Regions from separate parts of the Homo sapiens genome. Here all the other regions are linked to region 4. The links are contacts of gene promoters, found by promoter capture Hi-C in human tissues and cell types (Jung and others, 2019). All regions are on one chromosome and are shown on one strand. Each heading gives the region's core, a stretch centred on a gene start or on the middle of the fragment in contact. The rest is flanking DNA. Distances are from core to core; before and after follow the strand shown.

Region 1 (2,700 bases), core at 180-2,679, 130 kb before region 4:
GGTTGTGTAGCTCTGCCTCTGGGCCTAATTGTAATAAATGAAGAATTTTCATTTGTGTCCCCAGTGAACCTCCTTCACTATCATTAATAACTCCCCCTCTCTGCAATTTCACTGCTGGGGCTAGACCTTCACCCCACCTCCGTGTTTTTCCTTTTGCTCAACTCTGTCCCTTCCTTTGTGCCTCTCTTGGCTCTGTTTTGTTTTTTACCTTTCCCTTTACCTACTCGTCTCATTCTTTGATGGTTAATATTTTGCTTTTTAAAAAAAATAAAAATTATAATTGCAGTATAAGACACATGAATAAAAGTGGGTTTTGAATGATCACGAAGGAAGTAAATCACTTTGATCAAGAAACAGATTACCGGCCGGGCGCGGTGGCTCACGCCTGTAATCCCAGCACTTTGGGAGGCCGAGGCGGGTGGATCATGAGGTCAGGAGATCGAGACCATCCTGGCTAACAAGGTGAAACCCCGTCTCTACTAAAAATACAAAAAATTAGCCGGGCGCGGTGGCGGGCGCCTGTAGTCCCAGCTACTCGGGAGGCTGAGGCAGGAGAATGGCGTGAACCCGGGAAGCGGAGCTTGCAGTGAGCCGAGATTGCGCCACTGCAGTCCGCAGTCCGGCCTGGGCGACAGAGCGAGACTCCGTCTCAAAAAAAAAAAAAAAAAAAAAAAAAAAAAAAAAAAAAAAAAAGAAACAGATTACCAATACCCCAGACACCTCCTGGTGACACTTCCCATTAACTGTTTCCACTAACTTGCTCAAAGACAACTACCATTGAGGTTTCCAACACTAAGGTTAATTTTGCTTGTTGTGTAATTTATAAAAATGGAATAATCTCTTTTCTCTCCACTCTTTCTTTCTCCCTTTACCTCTCTCTCAATATATATAGATCTCCCAAAAGAAGCCAAATCCCCCAAAATTGTATGGATATTTTACTCAACATGCTTGTGAAAGTCATCTGTATTCGTTTTGTATAATTATTTTCACTACTAGATAGTATTCCATTATAGAAATAAGCCATGAATTATTTATTCATTTGTACAATTTCAAGCATTTGGCTTCTATGAATAATGCTGCCTTGAGCATTCTTTTCTATGTGTTTTGGTGACATAACACACATTTCTGTTGGTTTCTGCTGAGGAATATAATTGTTGGGTTATAGGGTATGTATATTTTCACCTTTGGAAGATTACCCCAAACTGTTTTCCCAAAAGCATATATAAAGGCAGAGATGAAAGAAAGAGAGCTTGGCAAATTCCAGTAAGTAAAGGAAGCTTAGTGTGGTGGGAATGTGGCATGAAAGGGCGAGAGGTGGGTGACGGGGAACGCGCAGGTGCGTGGTAGACATCCTTCAATTCACCACTCCAAGCAGTGTTGATCTACTGCTAAGGGCCACACGAAGGCACTGGGTTTCAAACAGGAAAGTCATATCAACTGGTTTCTATTTTGGAAAAGTCCATTCAACTGAAGTGCAGACTTGAGAGGAGCAAGACTGGGGGCCAGACAGGAGACTGTTCCTCTAATTTTAGTGAGAGTGACAGGGGTCTAGATTAGGGTGTTCGTGCTGGGGATGAAGAGAAATGGACAAGTTAGAGATATTTTAAAGTTGGGATTGACACAAGTGGCAAATGAAATGATGATTGTTTTAAGCCACTAAGTTTCAGGATAGTTTGTTACATGACACAGCAATAGATGACAGATGCAGCTTCCAAAGAGAGATGTTCTTCAGGTCTTTAAATAAAGGTCTTCAGGCAATTGGGGAAGGGAGTCAACAGGACAGGTCTGAGCTGGAGATGTATGTTTAGAAATCAACAGATCTTAGATGGTGATTGAGCCATGGAGAGGAAGTGATGCCTGAGGAGAGGCTTATTGTAATCTGGGGGTGGAGGTGGAGTCACAGGGGCCATTTTGATAAGAGGGCAGCTGATCTTTCTCCATAGTAATAGGACACCCTGTGCCTCCTTTCTAGCTCTTATCTCCTCAGATCAGAGAATGTCTTGATTTGTCTTCTCTCTTCCCTTCTTTGCATGATCCACTCTCTACCAATTTTTCATTCATTGTCCTTTAACTCATTTTCTGCATACTTCTCTTTGTGCCTCCCTCCATTTTTCCTATTTCTTGGTATTTATTTCCCTCTATGTTTTTTCTATTCATAGTCTTTTTATCTACACTTTTTAAAAATTATTGTCTCTTAGAGACAGAACCAGGGTGAGGTGAAGGTGGTGCTATGGGGTGCCTTGAAATTTAAGGAAGCTCAGTCTCACATGCCAAGTGAGGTCTCCTTACATGCTGTGCCCTGGGGGCCTCCCTGCCTCACCTCGTGCCAGGCCTGTTGTCCCATATGTAATGTTGCATCTCTGTTACATTTCCTACCTGCTTTGAGTCGGCCCTTATTTCTTAATTATTAACGTTACCTCTGCAAGCTTCTTCTATGTCACTTTTTTTTCAAAAATACTTTCGCATCTGATGTGTGAGTGCTATATCACTTTTTGTCTTTCTATATCTTCCTCATCTCAAACATTCCCATCATTACGAAAGGTCTCTTCCAGTGCCATTGTCTACCACACCAGAGGCCCTCCACTTGCCATTCCTTCCTGAAGGTCTTTCACCTGGGCTTCCTTCCTTTGCAAATCTGACAAGCAGCATCATGCATAATTTCTACGTTTTCATGATAACTTCTGAAAAGTAACTTGCAAC
Region 2 (2,700 bases), core at 86-2,585, 170 kb after region 4:
TCAAGTTAATGGGCATATGTTAGTACTCACCAGCAGGAAAAAACTAGAGGCTTCAGTGCATCCTAGGATCCTGGGGGAAGAATTGTCATGTCCTCCTAAGAAGGCAGAATTGGTCCAAACAAGGGACAGTGAGGAGGGCAGGGTAAACAAGCCACTCCTTGCCACCTACAAGTGCCAATTTGCCCTAAATTTTCCCAGACAGAGCCCACAGGTCAGATTTTGATGTTTCTGTATCTGGACCATGACCCAGTTTGTATTCATAGCCAATCCCTAATCTCATCATCATCTCAGTTTCCAGTTCCTCAAAGAAGTTTACCCTTGAACCCCTAGGCCTGGTTCTGGCTCTGTGGAGGGCTCAGGCAGAGCAGAATGCATACAGAGGCTTTCCCATTCTCCCAGGATGGGCACAGGACCTAGCCCTGAGAGCAGCAGGCACCCTGGACTTCTACAAAAGTGTGCCATAGGCCAGGCACGGTGGCTCAAGCCTGTAATCTCAGCACTTTGGGAGGAGGCGGGTGGATCACTTGAGGCTAGGAGTTCAAGACCAGCCTGGCCAAGATGGTGAAACTCTACTAAGAATACAGAAATTAGCCCAGTGTGGTGGTGTACACCTGTAATCCCAGCTACTTGGGAGGCTGAGGCAAGGGAATCGCTTGAGCCTGTGGCGGGGTGGCGGAGGTTGCAGTGAGCCGAGATTGCACCACTGCACTCCTGCCTGGGCGACAGGAGACTCTGTCCACCCTCTCCCTACCCCACAAAAAAAAAAAAAAAAAAAAAAGTGTAGCATGCTGTTCAACCACCAGAGGGCACTGTGGGCCCCTCCAGAGACGGAAAGGAATTGAGCTATTAAAGCTCCTGCAAGGACAAGGAACTAGCAGAAAGAAGTAGTGAAGGCTTTGAAGGGGAGGAAGATGCTCTCAGTGGCTCCTATTTCATGCAGATGGAGGAAAACCAACCAAGAGCATGCGCCAGGTCCTCTCCAGATGAGACTGGCAAAGACGAAGCAGCAGGCAGTCACGTTTAGGCACATGCTTGCGAGGATTTCCTTACTGTGACAAAAGGTCCCTTCTGTTGTTTGTCACAAGTGCAAAACCTCACAGCTAGCATAATGAAACAACTGAGATGCACTCAGTAACGTGGGCTGGAAAAGGATCCCCAGTTTTTCGTTTCATAGATTGGAATCTGGTAGGAGGCCCGCCTGGGGATGGCCGGCAGCAGGCAGAGACCTGGATTCTAGATCCTCCCATTTGCAAGAATGTCCCAGGTGACCTCCTCTCGGGGATGCTAGAGGATGAGGACAGGGTGAAGAAGCCAGCCTACTGGGGGAAGGGGGGTCTTTGGGACCAATCAAGAGTGCTTAGAGAGGGGTCCTCTGAGATATCTGGACACTGACCGCTTCCCAATGAATTGCCTATGGCCCGCTGCTTCAGAATCACAGGGAGCTTGCCTAAAATGCAGATTCTGGGATGTTGGCTCTGGGTGGGAATCTCTAGGATTCAGGCCCAGGAATCTGTGTTTTTAACCAGTTGAACAAGTTTTCTAGGTGATTTTTGTTTGTTTGTTTTGTTTTGTTTTGCCACAATTAGGTTTGAGATCCACTGCCCTACGACTGGTCCTTTATCTGACTTAAACATTTGACAAAGGAGCAAATCTAACTAAGGTATCTGTGGTGTGGGCAGCAGTAGAGCCTGCAACTTAATCACAAGAGCTGTCCTTGTCCTGTGAGGTGACAACCGAGAGTTTATTGTTTGGTTGATTGCTTGGTTTGTTTAATTGTAATGTTTTGTAGTTTAATTGTTTATTTATTAACAGCTTTCAGAAACAGTAATAAGAATAGAATGTGAAGCCAACTGCAGAAGAAAAAACTAAACTGAGAAGGGAACTAAATAAAAAAGCAGCTGGGCAGATGAGATTTGGGGGTGCAGGGAGCAAGCATGTGGATGGAGGGAGGAGATTAATATTGAGCCATGGTCATGAGAACTTCAGAGAGAGATGGATGAGTGGAGGTGGCCCACACGGTATTCTCTTTTAGTGTTAAAGTCTCACCAATGCACCACGACGTAGCAGTCTCTCGTTGTGACGTATTACCTGGAGTTCTTTGTCTCATGACCCAGAGAATTAAGGAGTGTGGACACAAAAGGTGAGATTGGAGCAAAAGTTTTCTAAGCAAAAGAAGAAAGCTTTCTGCCATGGAGAGGGGGCCCAGAAGAGGGTTGCTGTCTTTACAGTTGAATGCAAAGGCTTTTATAAGAAACTGATGAGGGCTGGGCATCTCATTTGCATAAGACACAAATTTCTGTTAGCTCCACCCCATCCTCCAAGTGTGCATGTGGGCCCTTAGCTTAGTGACTCCATATTGCTTTGTTCCCCTTACTGTACATGTGTTACGGGACAGAACTTTCCACTGCAGGCGTGTCTGGGTGAGTCACCTGTGTAGCTTTTCTTATCTATGTGGCTGTGGGCGTGTCTTAGGCAAGCCCCTCTGTGCAAGTTGGCTGTTCTTTTGTTTGAAAGAATTTAACTGAGGGCCCACCCTAACTGCCTGCCTGACTGGCTTCTTCCTTTCTCCTCTCTCGGTAGGTCATGGATTGGCTCCTGCTTTGACACCGCCTTGAGGGACTTAAGATGTTGGCATGATTTTTGAAGCTTTTTATTGGATATTGGGTTGATATTATATTTGAACATGAAGTCACCCTGAGG
Region 3 (2,700 bases), core at 117-2,616, 230 kb before region 4:
TTTTATGTGTTCCATGTGTACTTAAAAAGAATGCACATTTGAAGTTGTTGGGTATGTTGTTTTATCTATGTCAATTAAGTCAAGTTTGTTAATCACATGGTTCAGATTTTCTACATCCTTACTGATTTTTTGCTTGTGCCATCAGCGACTGAGGTGAGTTACAAGCTTCTACTTTGGTAGTGGATTTGTCTATTTCTCCTTTTAATCTTGTCAATCTTTGCTTTATATATTTTGTGGCTTTTCTGTTAGGTACCAATAAATGTAGAATTATCTTTTGTGTGTGTTGAATTTCTTATCATTGTGTAACGTCCCTCTTTATCCCTAATGGTGTTTTTTGCTTAAAAGTCTACACCAGTGTAGAAAAAATTTTTTTTTCTTTACTCTCTTAGGTTTAATGCCTGGGACCTATAAATTAAACTGACAAAAGACAGATTAACAGGAGAAAAAGCACAGAAATTTTATTTAATATTAGTATTTTTACATGGCAAAGGAAACATCATAGCAAGAAATAAAAACCCCAAATAAATGAATTGACTGGAGGCTTATATACTATTTTAACACAGAGCAATAACTTGTGGAGATGTAACAATACAAAGGAAAAAAGGATTTGGGCTAAGAGTGGTAAATTATGGGAAAGTGACTAAGAAATATATGGAGAAAACTAATGGGAGATAAGGGTTATTTTAGTGAGGTTTGTTTGTACAGATTCATCATGGCTTCAACTCCTTGACTCTGGTGATAAGAATGTTCTATTCCTGGTACAGGGATGGCACTTTTCTTAGGCATAAAGGTGTAAGAAAGAGACCCCTTTCTGCATCTGCTGTTTCTCAATTGCCTTCAGCTCAAAATAATCAACATGGCAAAGTGGCATATTATGGGGTGATATGTTCTGATACCATTCACCGGCTTTATATTTTTTTGAGACGACTTAGTGTTTGCATATCTTATTCCATCTTTTTATTTTTAACTTATATATCTTCGTATATTCAATCATGTCTCTTGCAAGCAGCCTATAGGTTTTCTTTAATCCAGTATGACAATGTTTGCCTTTTTTTTGTCTGTTTTTGAGACGGAGTCTTGCTCTGTCACCCAGGCTGGAGTGCAGTGGCATGATCTCGGCTCACTGCAACCTCCACCTCCTGGGTTCAAGCAATTCTCATGCCTTGACCTCCCGAGTAGTTGGGACTACAGGCACACGCCACCATGCCTACCTAATTTTTTTGTATTTTTAGTAGAGATGGGGGTCTCACCATATTGGCCGGGCTGGTCTCGAACTCCTGACCTCATGATCCACCTGCCTCAGCCTCCCAAAGTGCTGGGATTACAGGCATGAGCCACTGTGCCTGGGCTATGTTTGGCTTTTAATTGGAGAAATTGTTTCATTTACTTTCCATGTAACTACTGATATATTTAGGTTTAAATCTACCATCTTCCTGCTTGTTTTCTATTTGTCTTACCTGTTTTATGTTCCTTTTCTTCTTCTTACTTCTTTATTGGATTACATTAAAATTACATTATTATAGTCATTTTTGGTTTATCAATGCCTAGTAAACATTAATACTCTTACCATTTTCTAGACAACATAAGGACTTTACACATTCCTATTTTAGATTTCTCCTGCCATTTTATAAATCTTATAGATATTAGAAGTAAATATACTTTGGGAAAAGCCACTTGGAAAACAGAAAAGCCAATAAAACTCTTAATATTCATATAAACATATTTTTCTTTACAAAAGAATTATTCTAATTGTTTGCTGCATATGTTACAAATAGAAAATAATTCCTTTTGATTTTGGAAGATTCATGTAATAGTAGTAGTTAGCTTGCTTTGTAGTAGTTAAATTAGGCTATCTGCTCTAACAAATAGACCCCAATATATATAACATCCTCAAACAAAATTTAAGTTTATTTCTTTTAAAACAGTCTAATGAGTTACAAGTTGGTGAGATGGGAGGGTTGTTGGGTTGTTGGGGGCTCTCTTCCATGTAATTATGCATGGTCTCAGACTGATGGAGGTTTTGACACTCATGGCTTCCAAGGGTGTCCTTACTTGGAGACTGCCATCCAGTTCATGGCAGAGGAAAGATTGTGGGGCAGTACGTGTAAGAAGCTTTTATGGGTCAGCCTTGGAACTAGGCACATGTCTTCCTCAGATGTTCCTCTATCTAGAACTCGGTCATAGGCCACTCATACCTGCAGGAATTCCTGGAAAATATAGTTTAACTGTGTGCCCTGGAAGAAGAGGAAAATACAGTTTGGGTAAGCAGCTAGCTGTCTCTCCTATACACTTTCTATCTTGTCCTCAAGTATCACCCTTCTTCCGATCTTCCCACATATAGAACCCCTTACCCTCTTTCTTCCTGCCCCTCCCTTACAGGAGATAACACAAACTCCCATATAATTACTGCACACAGGCCAATATCCACTTACTTTGTGTGAAGTACAGTTCTCCCTATCAGGTCTGGATGATGTTCTTGATGTTTTGGTGACCTTTTAATAAGTTTGTCTTCCCTTACTGTACTTCCAATATACAATGTTTGATGAGTGACAGAGTAATCCCAATACAACTACTATCTAGGAAGTGGAAAAATGGGAGACAAACAGTGGCCAATGGTCTATTATCTAAATCTACCAGGCTGTGATTAAAGGGGTCCCTCTCCTCTAGCAGTGGAGGAATTTGGAAATTTCTTGACTTTGA
Region 4 (2,700 bases), core at 143-2,642:
ATCTAAATGTCCTTCAATTGGAGAATGGTTAAAAAATTATGCTATGTAAATTCTATGGAATAGTATATGTAAAAAGAGTGAGGTAGATCTATATGCATTAAGGTGAAAAGATCTCTAAGATTTCCACCATTAAAATGAGTAGAAATGCAAAATGCAGAATAGCACGCACAATGTAATTCCATTTATTACAAAACGAGAACACAAATTATATGTTTACAAAAACATACTTCATACACGTAAATGCATCGAAAAATATGAGAAAAGTTATGCCGAAGACTCTTCACAAGACTGTGAAAGGAAGCTACAAGGCGAAGTGAGTGGTGAAGAAGACTTTTTCGTTTATACACTTCTCCACTGTTTGAAATTTTATGAGTAAGAATGTAATGTATTTCTTTTGTATTAAAAAATTTAAAAGATTAAAATCGCTTGAACCCAGGAGACAGAGGTTGCAGTGAGCCGGGATTGTGCCACTGCACTCCAGCCTGGTTGACAGAGTGAGACCCTGTCTCAAAAAAATGAAATAAAATAAAAAGATTACGTAATGTTATTTATAAACTCGTTACTAGAGAAAAGATAGGATTTCCATCTCTTTTCTGGTCAGAGGCATCCCCCATCTTGGGACAGGAAATTGAAGTAAAAATAAAAATATTTAGCTTTCTGCCATCCTGGGCCTTTTTCTTCTTTTTCCTTCTTTGGATCAAGGTCAATTGTATCAGAACTCACACCCTGAGTCAGTCAAGGAAATAGCCCCAAAGCTGACTGAGGCCCCTTGCCAAGACAGGTGAAACCACAGTTTCCAATGTTTAAAAGTAAGCCAGCTGTTTACCCTGGAGTGTCTATTTCCAAACTACCTTCTTTGACATGACATATGTGAAGGTAGAGAGGGCAGAGGGATGTGAAAGGGTTGGGAGATCATGAGGAAATGTTTGTTGAAACACAAACATATAATTTGTGTTCCTCATTCTCATGAGGAAATAATAACTCTCAGTCACAAATGACTGAAACGACTGTTCAGAGTGTCCCCGCCAGCTGAGCAGTAGTTTCAAAACAAGAAAAGTCATCTGTGTTATGGCAAGCTGGACTCACACAAACAGCTGTCCTGCTGCAGTTGTAAAAATCTGATTTCCTTATTACATTCTCTTTTATTCCATTATATTACACTACCTACCTATGTTCTTGCAAAGCAGGACTAAACTGAAGCTTTAGACAGAAACTGAACTACAGGCATGAAAGCTCCAATACTGCCAGAGATAAAGGTGAAAGGAAGAGAGATAAAGACTCACCTGGTGCTCAGGTCGCTGCCCCCACCTGCCATCGTCCCACCCTAGGCCCTGCCTGGGTGTCAGAGCCTGGCCTATGAGCTCCCCAGTCGGCCCAGCCTGCGTGCAGTGTGGCTGCCCTGACCCGGAGCAGGAAGTCGGCCGACAGACTGACTCACCCTCACAGATTTCTGCCCAAATGGGGAAAAGAAAAGTGAAAGTATTTATTTAACTTCCTGCTGGGATACAGACACCGTGTTTCTCCTCCTTTTTCACTCCAAGGGGTTCTCAGCTTTTCTGAAATGTGGCAGACGGTTGGAGGAGAGGCCTGACAAGCAGCAAGACCTGCAGGACCAGGGAAAGGAGGGCCCAGAGGACGAGCAGGGCTGGCTTCCGGGAGTCCACTTGCTTGTGCAATGGACAGCAAAAAAAAAAAAAATGTCCTTGAACCAAAATAGTCCTTAGCTGCTCTGCCCTCTTAAGAGGGGGCATAGTTTACATGGGAGTTGGGGGGAAAACTCCATGTTTGCCCCTTCCCCTTGCTGAAATGGCTGGGGGTGAGAGTTGGAGGGTTGGAGGGAAAGCCAGAAACTTCAAATCTTCTCTCAGGCCCATGGGAGAGCATGGACTGGACTAAGGTAGGTCCTGACATGGGGACCCAGGGCTGGAGAGAACCAAAATGCTCAGCATTATAACCTGGGGAGAGTGTTCTTAGCCTTCCTGGAAATCAGCCAGAAGTAAGAGAGAACTCTCCACACCCCTGGGACCAGAGGCTGGAGCCAGCATGGTAAGAAAGGCAAACATTTTAAGGGGCAAGGGTTTAAGGAATCTTGACTATGGGGCCACCTTGGAACAGCCAGGGATGAAGAGAGCTTCGGAGAAGTCACTGGAATCTTGAGAGAACAAAAGCTTCTCATTGGAGGAGGATGGAGGTTGGAACCCAGATGATCTAGACATGGAAGGGCAGGGTGGCTCCCGCGGGAGGTTCTATCTCTTCCCAGATTTTCCATTTAGATTCTGATTCAACATTCCTCAGAGAACAAGAAGCGACCGAGAAGACTCGCTTTACATCAGTATAAAGTCATAGGTAAAGAAATAGAAGCAAAGGGCGCATGAGAATGGGGCCACAGGACACAACCAGGGACCAGAACTCCAGGCTGGACCATGGGGCAGAGACAGGGAGGCAGCTGGGAGCCTGGGGGCGCTGGAATCCAGGGCCCAAGGTGAGCAGAGGGTGGAAGCTGGTGAGGATTCAGGGGCCAGAGGGGATGGTGCTCCAGAGCCATGTTTTCCAAATTACATTCTGCTGAATCCAACTTTTTCCAGCCCCCACCCCCAGCCATCTCAGCAAGGGGAAGGGGCAAACATGGAGTCCTCCCCCAACTCCCATGTAAACTATGCCCCATCTTAGAGGGCAGAGCAGCTAAGGACAATTTTGGTT

The links. Contacts are between HindIII fragments. The study calls those that stand out against the background at their distance.
Region 1: a fragment that was not itself captured here is called in contact with the fragment with the promoter of SP140L in region 4 in 3 of the 25 tissues and cell types used here (dorsolateral prefrontal cortex, mesenchymal stem cells and thymus).
Region 2: a contact is called between a fragment that was not itself captured here and the fragment with the promoter of SP140L in region 4, in 2 of the 25 tissues and cell types used here (mesenchymal stem cells and thymus).
Region 3: a contact is called between a fragment that was not itself captured here and the fragment with the promoter of SP140L in region 4, in 1 of the 25 tissues and cell types used here (lymphoblastoid cells).

What each region holds. Positions count from the first base shown.
Region 1 is chr2:230,458,586-230,461,285 of GRCh38, reverse strand. SP100 (SP100 nuclear antigen) reads right to left here. Exons shown (of 29, transcript NM_001080391.2): 9 at 1-24. All of the region lies in intron 3 of LOC101928816 (a long non-coding RNA gene), which reads left to right. Among named protein-coding and RNA genes, the nearest start is that of SP100, 44 kb to the right of the region's middle. The HindIII fragment of the contact is 6,659 bases long and covers 1-2,700 here.
Region 2 is chr2:230,158,452-230,161,151 of GRCh38, reverse strand. No RefSeq gene overlaps it. Among named protein-coding and RNA genes, the nearest start is that of SP110, 60 kb to the left of the region's middle. RefSeq lists a silencer at 757-826. The HindIII fragment of the contact is 3,967 bases long and covers 1-2,700 here.
Region 3 is chr2:230,557,391-230,560,090 of GRCh38, reverse strand. No RefSeq gene overlaps it. Among named protein-coding and RNA genes, the nearest start is that of LINC01907, 140 kb to the left of the region's middle. The HindIII fragment of the contact is 4,770 bases long and covers 1-2,700 here.
Region 4 is chr2:230,325,885-230,328,584 of GRCh38, reverse strand. It overlaps SP140L (SP140 nuclear body protein like), which reads right to left and starts at 1,392. Exons shown (of 19, transcript NM_138402.6): 1 at 1,284-1,392. The coding sequence starts at 1,315. RefSeq lists an enhancer at 1,249-1,718. The HindIII fragment of the contact is 8,396 bases long and covers 1-2,700 here.